Linked DNA regions of Homo sapiens: region 2 is linked to region 1. The links are contacts of gene promoters, found by promoter capture Hi-C in human tissues and cell types (Jung and others, 2019). All regions are on one chromosome and are shown on one strand. The core of a region is centred on a gene start or on the middle of the fragment in contact, and the rest is flanking DNA. Distances in the headings are between cores, read along the strand shown. Region 1 holds the start of GSTA3 (glutathione S-transferase alpha 3). Region 2 has its middle 33 kb from the start of GSTA4.

Region 1 (5,151 bases), core at 1,487-3,986:
AAGAGGGACTAGGAATGGGAATTAGGGACAGAGAGAGACAGTGTCTCCAAAGACACTTTTTCATATAACTCTGGCTCTTAGAATCATGGTAAAGTTTTGCATACCAGAAAACTAAGTAATTAATTAAAACCAACCAGGATGTAAGGAAACCGCAAAGTGGAATATACAAACACTAACAACCTAACAGCATTTCAAATGAATAGATTACCAAACTGAAGGAGGTGGGGGGGAAAAGAACTGACCTAAATAACCACAGAAAACCACAATTTTGACTGGATATTGTAAGGCTTAAGACCAAAAAAAAAAAAAAAAAAAAAAGAAGGAAAGAAAAATACTGTACTCTTGTTAGTAGATTTGTTTTTCACAGAGGTATGCATTGGCAATTCTGCAACTATTTTACTTGTACTAGGATTAAACAAATATGCAAATATTGTATATTTTAGATAATCATAGCCAGGTTTCTCACTTGTCAGAGAGGTTAGAAATGAAAGGACACGGCTAAATGAATCTATTGAATTGAAATAGTAGGTATCTGTATGAACTCATGGTTTTTTATCATATTTATACAGATAGCTATATAAATACATACAGAAGTGTATGTATGTGTGGGTTAATATACATACATATATTTCCCACTGGGGAGAGCCTAGAAGCATTGAAAACCCAGAAGCAATGAGTACACATAGTTCCGAGATCCTAGTTTTCAAATACCTTCCCCAATAAAAGGAAACAAGGATCTTTGGAGAAATGGTTGACTTCAAGGCTGGGACACAGACAAGACAAGATAAGCCTGGAACATCTTTGGCACAGAAAGTATCTGGAAATGCTCACAATAAGAGAGGAGGTTTGCCATAAAAGACACAGAAGCCAATCTGAAGGAGCTCCCACAGGCTAAAGGTGGATCAATTTGAGCAATAAAATAGATATCGATGGTATTAGATTGTAACCTTTAGAATAAAATATCTATAAATCTGTACTAAGAAAATAATTGAATGAATGGAAGGATAAATAAAGGAGAAGAGACAGCTTTTCTTTACAGAAGAATTCGAATTATTAAATGTAGATGGAATGAGGGAAATAGAAAGTCACTATTAGACAAACACTACAGTAATATTTGCTGCAGGCAAGATCCATAATGGATGCTAAAGTTAGTGAGCAGAAGCTTATTTTGAAACTGACTATTTTTATAGTCACAAAGTATCTTCCACAAGATATTTATGAATTCCAAAGGGATAAATAGTAATATTACGGTTGATGAACCTGGCAGACGCTACTTTAATCAAGGGATTAAGGTTAAGATCAAAATTAATAAGACATACCATGTCTCGGATATGAAATTATGGGTGGAAATGATCAGCTGAGACTGGAACAACTGCTGTGACATTTTGCAAAAAATGTATGTCGTCAATCGAGTCATGAGAAAACATCAGATAGACCCAAATTGAGGTACATTCCACAAAATAATTGACCATTACTCTTCAAAAATGCCACCATCATGAAAGACAAGAAAAGACTGAGGAACTGCCATAGTTTGGAGGTAACTAAGGAGATGTGACAACGAAATGCAGTGCTGGGGTCCTGGATGGGATCCTGGGTTAGAAAAAAGATACTGATTGAAAAACTGGTGAAATTCAAGTAAGGCCTGGAGTTTAGTCAATAGTGTATCAACATTAAATTCCTGGATTCAATCATTGTACTATGGTTACATAAGATGTTAACATTAGCGGATGCTGGGTGAGGGGTATTTGGGAAACTTGTACTAGTTTTGCAATTTTTCTGTTACATAAATAACTCCCCCACCCACAAGTTTAAAAGATACAGATTAGATTATAGAGGAAAAAAACTAAGTCTGAGATTTGCTTCAAATATTGTCAATAATTTTTGAAGCAAGGTGATGGGTACATCAAGGCTTTGTAGTGTTCTTTCCAGATTTATGTATATCAGACAATTTCCTTTAGAAAAGTAGAAATTACATATACGTGTATTAAGCCCTTTCTATGTCCAGGCACTGTGGTTAGCCACGGGGACTTGGTTAACCACCAGGACTTGAGGCCCTGCCTCAAGGAGCTCATACTCAACAGGGGGAAAGCAGACATGATGCACGGAATGTAGAAAGAGTGATGTGATAGAGGAAGCACAGGATGCCTTGGAGCAGGGGAGAAAAGAGTGCTCCAAATAGGAGAAACAGCATGCAGAGCCTTGGGCTAGGGAGAAAGGCTAACTGGTAAGTCACAGAGAAAAATCTGCAAATGACCTCGGGGAATGCAGCTGAGGTCTTTTGTCTGCCCAGGGCAAGGACAACTCAGCCAGATTCTTTGGGCCTATAAAATTTTGTGACATTATTTGTAATTTAGTCTTTTTAAACAAATTTAGAAGGCAATCTCCCTATGCTCTTTATCAAGTCCCCTTTCCTGACATCTCCTATGACTCTCCTATGACACTTTCCTCCTCTCCCCACAATGTTTTCTCATCTGTCATAAATCTGCAGCCTATTTAACAAGATCCTCCTTAAGCAGTGTTCACAGGATACTTGGTCCCCAGTGACCTTCTGAGGCAGCCAAATAGATATGAAATCTTTTTGTGCATTTATGGATAGCCTTGAAATTAATTGCTGTCATTTTCTTCCTAGCAGATCATGGAACTCTGGAGACTAAAGTGGTGTGGGAGTGGCTGCTCCCAACTAGACTCCACCCCCTTCAGAAGGCAGGAGTTGTCATAGTATTAAAACAGCTAACATACACATCAGGAGGTGGCCTTGAGAAGCTGAGCGGAGACCGGCTAGACTTTACTCAAGTTAGTATTGACCTTAAACATCTTCATAAATGTTCTCATGTCTACTTCACTAAGAAAAACAAATTTAAATGTGTTAGTTTGTGTGAGTACTTTATGTTCTTGCTGTTTTTCTGTGTGCTTAGGAGACAATTTAAGCATTGTTTGTTAGTTCCTGAAGGACAGGTCGGTAAAGAAAAATAATATTCAACAATTTAGAAAACAAGGGCAAAGAATTTGATGATATGAGAAAAGTAAGAGTGGTATCATTGTGGGCAATCTGAAAATACAACCACATCAGTGCCAGGCCACATGCCAAAGGTTGCTTATGGAAAAGCTGTTTATTAAAAACATGTATTCGTGTGATTCATTCCTGTGATTCACAGGAGTCAACACACAATTATACTAGATTTAAAGCTGGCAGGGTCACACATTTGGGAGCACCACTTGATCAATGAAAAGAAAATACATCTGGATGGTCGTATTCCTCTAGAGCTGGCACTTCCAAATGGGAAACCAATCACCAATGCTTGACAATCAGGATCTAAATTTACACTTCCATCATTGATTTTACACAGATTAGTTTACTGCTTATATAAGTGACTTTGTGATTGAGCACCAAGCAGCATGCTATTTTTCCTTCTTCTTCTCCTCCTTCTTCCCTCCTTCTCTTTGTTCTCTTTGCCCTCTTTCTTCTTCCTCCTCCTCTTTTTCCTCTTCTGCCTCTTCTTCCTCCTCCTCCTTCTTGTTCGAAGTATCTGGGACCAAAGGGTGAGCAGGGTTTAAAGTCTCAAAATTGCAAGTGAATCTAAATATATAGGACTTTTAGGGTAGTAGGCAAGTAGATCTAAGAATAATAATAACCCCCTCTTAAGCTGTTATATTCCCTGTCCAACAGAACATGCACATTCCTTCTATATGCAAGTTCTTTCTATTTGCCAAATGAAATATTACCCTGGGCTACCCTGCCAAAGCACTTATCCAATTAAAAAAAAATATTTTTTGTGTAGTCACGATGTTTCTACTATGTGGGAGAGTTTGGTTGCTTTGATAATTCTTTTTAAACAGCAGATTGGTGGGTTTCATAATTAGGATTGGTTATTTTATTGCCATAATCCTAGCTTGGCTTTTTTCATGCTTTTTGTTTGTTTTGAGACAGTCTCATTCTGTCACCCAGGCTGGAATGCAGTGATGTGGCCATGTTTCACTGCAGCCTTAACATCTTGGGCTCAAGTGATCTTCCTGCCTCAGCCTCCTGGGTATCTGGGACTACAGGTGTGGGACACCAATCCTGGCTAATTTTTTTTTTAAATAGAGACTTTATTTAATTGCCCAGGCCAGTCCTGAACTCCTGAGCTCAAGCAATCTTCCCTCCTCAGCCTTCCGAAGTGCTGGGATTATAAGTATGAGCCACCATGCCCAGCCCTAGTTTGTTTTTTAATTACTCTATGCTACTGTAGTCTAAAACAGTGAGCGCTATAGGCAAATGGCAAAAAAAAAAAAAAAAAGATTGCTCTTGAGATATCTAGCCATGTTATATCCTATAAAGCACGGACTGAACTTTGAGCAATGCACTACACTGTGCTTAAAGACTATGACAACTTCTCTGCTTCCCGGGAGCTCACAGTTTGAGGGGTGGGGGACATAAAAATGGTAACTTCTTTTTTTTTTAATTTATTTATTTATTATTATTATACTTTAAGTTGTAGGGTACATGTGCACAATGTGCAGGTTCGTTACATATGCATACATGTGCCATGCTGGTGTGCTGCACCCACCAACTCATCATCCAGCACTAGGTATATCTCCCAATGCTATCCCTCCCCCCTCCCCCCACCCCACAACAGTCCCCAGAGTGTGATATTCCCCTTCCTGTGTCCAAGTGTTCTCATTGTTCAATTCCCACCTATGAGTGAGAACATGCGGTGTTTGGTTTTTTTGTCCTTGCGATAGTTTGCTGAGAATGATAGTTTCCAGCTTCATCCATGTCCCTACAAAGGACATGAACTCATCATTTTTTATGGCTGCATAGTATTCCATGGTGTATATGTGCCACATTTTCTTAATCCAGTCTGTCATTGTTGGACATTTGGGTTGGTTCCAAGTCTTTGCTATTGTGAATAGTGCCACAATAAACATACGTGTGCATGTGTCTTTATAGCAGCATGATTTATAGTCCTTTCGGTATATACCCAGTAATGGGATGGCTGGGTCAAATGGTATTTCTAGTTCTAGATCCCTGAGGAATCGCCACACTGACTTCCACAATGGTTGAACTAGTTTACAGTCCCACCAACAGTGTAAAAGTGTTCCTATTTCTCCACATCCTCTCCAGCACCTGTTGTTTCCTGACTTTTTAATGATTGCCATTCTAACTGGTGT
Region 2 (5,151 bases), core at 1,790-4,289, 52 kb before region 1:
GCCTGCCGAGTAGCTGGGATTACAGGCACACGCCACCACGCCCAGCTAATTTTGTTATTAGTAGAGACTGGGTTTCACCATGTTGGCCAGGTCTCGAACTCCTGACCTCAGGTGATCTGCCCGCCTCGGCCTCCCAAAGTGCTGGGATTACAGGCATGAGCCACTGCGCTGGGCCCAGTGCTGCTTTATCTTTCTCAGAAGGCAGCCAGGTGGAGACCGGGTTGGGGAGTGGGGGTCCTTTGAGTGAGGCATTGCTTGTCAATGGTCCAGTGACTTTTGATTTGCTGGTTGCCTGTCACCTGGTCAGTACCTGGAACATGGCCCATTTACAAGGTGACTTTGCCCATGCCAGAAGCCACTGGGTATGCTGTCCCGTGGTGCTTTTGGCATGTCTGTGAACTCCTTAGCCACCCCACTTTTGACCTCTAAAAGTGTGGTAACTCCTTTAGCATCCTGCTTGGGTCCCTGGTGGGGGCCAGGGAATTGATGAGTTCTCTTGTTAAGGAGAGATTAACAAGGCACAGTCTCTCCTCTCCCTCTCCTCATGTTTTCTCCACATTCATTTTATTGTAAGGTTCATGTTAAGGTTTGTTAGGATTGAGTCACTGAACCACCACGTGATTTCTCTCATCAGGGCATGTGGGTTAACAAAGTGCCTTTTTATCATGGTGTCTCCCAAGACAGTAAAGTGATAAATTTTTAGGAAGTTCCTGCAATTTTCAACATGCAATAGCTCAAGAGTCAATGTAAAAGGACTGAATTTTAATAGCAACTCAATACAGATGGTGCCCAGAGGGTGAAAAGACTGTGGCAAGAAAGGGCTAAGTTAACTTTCTTGGTATCAGACCTTGCTCTTGTTAATTGGACTCTACATGTGGCAACTAACCCACATTTCAGTGACACGACTATGCAATTTTTGCCAAGGGAAGAGTACACTTGTATAACGACTATAATTTTTTCTGTCTTTCCCAAATCACCTCAAAAACGTTTTTCTTCTAACCTACCTGATGCTGCCAAGACCAGCTCAGTCAGGGAGACCCTAACCCAGCAGCGCTAGAGGAATTAAAAACACACACACAAAAATATAGAGGTGTGGAGTGGAAAATCAGAGGTCTCACAGCCTTCAGAGCTGAGAGCCTTGAACAGAGATTTACCCACATGTTTATTGACAGCAAGCCAGTGATAAGCATTGTTTCTATGGATTATAGATTAACTAAAAGTATTCCTTACAGGAAACAAAAGGATGGGCCAAAATAAAGGGATGGGTTGGGCTAGTTATCTGCAGCTCCTTTACAATCAGCTACTTCTCCACTGCTCCATTAATACCTAAACTTTTTCACCTTTTGGAGGAACATTAGAACAGGCACAGATCGCTCATGCTATTGTTTGTGGTTTAAGAATGCCTTTAAGTGGTTTTCTGCCCTGGGTGGGCCAGGTGTTCCTTGCCCTCATTCCAGTAAGCCCACAACCTTCCAGTGTGGGCATCATGGCCATCATGAACATGTCACAGTGCTGCAGAGATTTTGCTTATGGCCAGTTTTGGGGCCAGTTTATGGCCAGATTTTGGGGGCCTATTGCCAACATGATGCAATGGTCCTAGGACTGGGGCTGCAACTAGAAGTGCTGGAAGCAGGGATTTCTAAGCAAGAAACTGTCAGTGTTTTTCAGACCTTGTGTCAGAATTCCTAAGGGCCTGTTGGGGAAGGATTGTGCCTTCATCCTGTCTAGCAAAAGTGGGGCTGAATGAATGCAGCTATATTGCCTGGTGATAGAAATAGCTCACTAGTTCTCCACCTATGGAACTGTACCCCACCTGAATGGCAGTGGACTGAGGAGGAGGTACTTGCTAGACTAGTATTGCTGCCTGCAATCTAGACCAGCACAGTGGCGGTTCTAATGTTCTTCCCAAAGGTGAAAAAGTTTAGGTATTAATGGAGCAGGGGAGAAGTAGCTGAGTGTAAAGGAATGAATAAATGGGTTATAAATGAAGGGAAATCCAACATTACATTAACACCTTGAAAGGGGCTCAGAGCAAGAGATGACATGTCTCTTAGCTCAATTATAACAGATGTCTGAAAGGGTGCAGCTATATGTTTGCTCCTGCTTTTGGAACTGATTGAAAGGAAATCTGCAAACCTGAGTGACCTCCCTCTGAAGACATTAATGAGAGGTGACAGCGTGCTGGCAGCCCTTGCTCACTCTCAGTGCCTTCTGCGCACACTCTGGCCATGCTTGAGGAGCCTTTCAGCCTGCTGCTGCACTGTGGGAGCACCTCTCTGGGCTGGCCGAGGCTGGAGCTGGCTCCCTCTGCTTGTGGGGAGGTGTGGAGGGAGAGGCATGGATGGGAACCAGGGCTGCGTGGTGCTCACTGGCCAGCATGAATTCTGGGTGGGTGCGGGCTCCCTGCCCCCCCCCCCCCACCCCATGGGCTCCTGTGCTGCCCGAGCCTCCCTGATGGGTGCTGCCCCCTGCTCCGCGGTGCCTGGTCCCATTGACCGCCTAAGGGCTGAGGGGTGCAGGTGCGTGGTGCAGGATTGGCAGGCACCTCCACCCACGTGGCCTCAGTGCAGGATCCACTGGGTGAAGCCAGCTGGGCTCCTGAATCTGCTGGGGACTTGGAGAATGTTTATGTCTAGCCAGAGGATTGTATACGCACCAATCAGCACTCTGTGTCTAGCTCGGGGTTCGTGGATGCACTAATCAGCACTCTGTATCTAGATAATCTGGTGGAGACTTGGAGGACTTTTATGTCTAGCTAAAGGATTGTGAATGCACCAGTCAGTGCTCTGTGTCTAGCTCAAGTTTGTAAATGCACCAATCAGCACCCTGTGTCTAGCTCAAGGTTTGTAAATGCACCAGTCAGTGCTCTGTGTCTAGCTCATCTAGTGGGGACTTGGAGAACTTTTGTGTCTAGCTAAAGGTTTGTAAACACACCAATCAGCACCCTGTCAAAATTGGCCAATCAGCTCCCTGTAAAATGGACCAATCAGCAGAATGTGGGTGGGGCCAGATAAGGGAATAAAAGCAGGCTGCCCCAGCCAGCAGTGGCCACCTGCTCAGGTCCCCTTCCACACTGTGGAAGCTTTGTTCTTTCACTCTTTGCAATAAATCTTGCTGCTGCTCACTCTTTGGCTCCACACTACCTTTATGAGCTGTAACACTCACTGTGAAGGCCTGCAGCTTCACTCCTGAGGCCAGCGAGACCACGACCCCACCAGGAGAAATGAACAACTCCAGACAGGAGGAACGAACAACTCCAGACGTGCTGCCTTAAGAGCTGTAACACTCACCACGAAGGTCTGCAGCTTCACTCCTGAAGCCAGCGAGACCATGAGCCCACCAGAAGGAACAAACTCCAAACACGTCCAAATATCAGAAGGAACAAACTCCAGACACGCCATCTTTAAGAACTGTAACGCTCACTGCAGGTGTCTGTGGCTTCATTCTTGAAGTCAGTGAGACCAAGAACCCACCAATTCCGGACACATTTTGGTGACCCAGAAGGGATTATTGCCTATCACCAAGCAGTAAGACTATCACCAAGTGGTGAGACCATTGCCTATTGTTAAGCGGTAAGACTGTCACCTATTGGCAAGCAGTGAGTACCATTGGACCCCTTTTGCTTGCTATTCTGTCCTATTTTTCCTTAGAATTTGGGGGCTAAATACCGGGCACCTGTTGGCCAGTTAAAGGTGACTAGCGCGGCCGCCGGCCTAAAGACACAGGTGTCAGGCTTTCTGGGAAAGGGCTCTCTAACAACCCCTGACTCTTCAGAGTTGGGAGCGTTGGTTTGCCTGGAACCGGCTTCTGCTTTTCCTGTACTTCTGGGCTGAGCTGAGAGTCAAGAGAGAGGAAAGCCATTCAGCTCCGGGGTCCTGACAACAAGTTGGCTGACCCTGCGGTCATGAGCGGAACTCTCAAAGGCGTGTCACCTAAGCGAGACTCGCCCATCTATCCTGTCTATCCTGACCCTTGCCCCCTGGGTCCTAATGCCTGCCAGACAAACTTCCTCTCTTCTCCGAGATTAGTCCCACTTCTAAAAATCGCTCCCTGTCTCTGGGGCTTTTCTAGTTTCTCCTATAAGAATGACTTCTAGTATAAACTCCAAGACTCTGTTAACTTCTTTAGGCACCCTGGCTCACCAATCAGAAAGACATAATTATTGCCCAAAGCCCTGTTGTAGGGGGGACTACCTGGAATTTTAGGATCCCTCCTCAGACTAACAGGCCTAACAAAAGCTATTCCTGAAGCTAGGATATGGGGAGCCCCAGAAATTGTATCCTTCCTATTCATATAAGTGAGGACAAAAGGTGTCACTATTCCAACCCTGGAGATCCCTTCCCTCCCTCAGGGTATGGCCCTCCACTTCATTTTTGGGGCATAACATCTTTATAGGACATGGGTAAGGTCCCAATACTAACAGGTGAATGCTTAGGACTCTAACAGGTTTTCAAGAATGCGTTGGTAAGTGTCACTAAATCCGATTTTTCTCAGCCCTCCTTGTGGTCTAGGAGGACAGGCAAGGGTGCAGGTTTTCGAGAATGCATCAGTAAGGGCCACTAAATCCGACCTTCCTTGGTCCTCCATGTGGTCTGGGAGGAAAATTAATGTTTCTGCTGCTGCGTCAGTGAGCGCAACTGTTCTGATCAGCAGGGTCCAGGGACCATTGCGGGTTCTTGGGTAGGGGTTGTTTCTGTTGCTGCATCAGTGAGCACAACTATTCCGATCAGCAGGGTTCAGGGACTGTCACGGGTTCTTGGGCAGGGGGAGAAACAAAACAAACCAAAACCGCAGGCAGTTTTGTCTTTCAGATGGGAAACACTCAGGCATCAACAGGTTCACCCTTGAAATGCATCCTAAGCCATTGGGACCAATTTGACCCACAAACCCCGAAAAAGAGGTGGCTCATTTTTTTCTACACTACAGCCTGGCCCCAATATTCTCTCTCTGATGGGGAAAAATGGCCACCTGAAGGGAAGTACAAATTACAATACTATCCTGCAGTTTGACCTTTTCTGTAAGAGGGAAGGCAAATGGAGTGAAATACCTTATGTCCAAGCTTTCTTTTCATTGACAGAGAATACACAACAATGCAAAGCTTACAATTTACATCCCACAGGAGGACCGCTCAACTTACCCCCATATCATAGC

The links. The method cuts DNA at HindIII sites, captures the fragments that hold promoters and counts their contacts. A contact is called where the count stands out against the background at its distance.
Region 2: a contact is called between a fragment that was not itself captured here and the fragment with the promoter of GSTA3 in region 1, in 1 of the 25 tissues and cell types used here (aorta).

What each region holds. Positions count from the first base shown.
Region 1 is chr6:52,907,283-52,912,433 of GRCh38, reverse strand. GSTA3 (glutathione S-transferase alpha 3) reads left to right here and starts at 2,736. Exons shown (of 7, transcript NM_000847.5): 1 at 2,736-2,793. RefSeq lists enhancers at 1,846-2,539, 2,540-3,232. The HindIII fragment of the contact is 16,965 bases long and covers 1-5,151 here.
Region 2 is chr6:52,959,998-52,965,148 of GRCh38, reverse strand. No RefSeq gene overlaps it. Among named protein-coding and RNA genes, the nearest start is that of GSTA4, 33 kb to the left of the region's middle. RefSeq lists a silencer at 2,911-3,111. The HindIII fragment of the contact is 4,080 bases long and covers 1,000-5,079 here.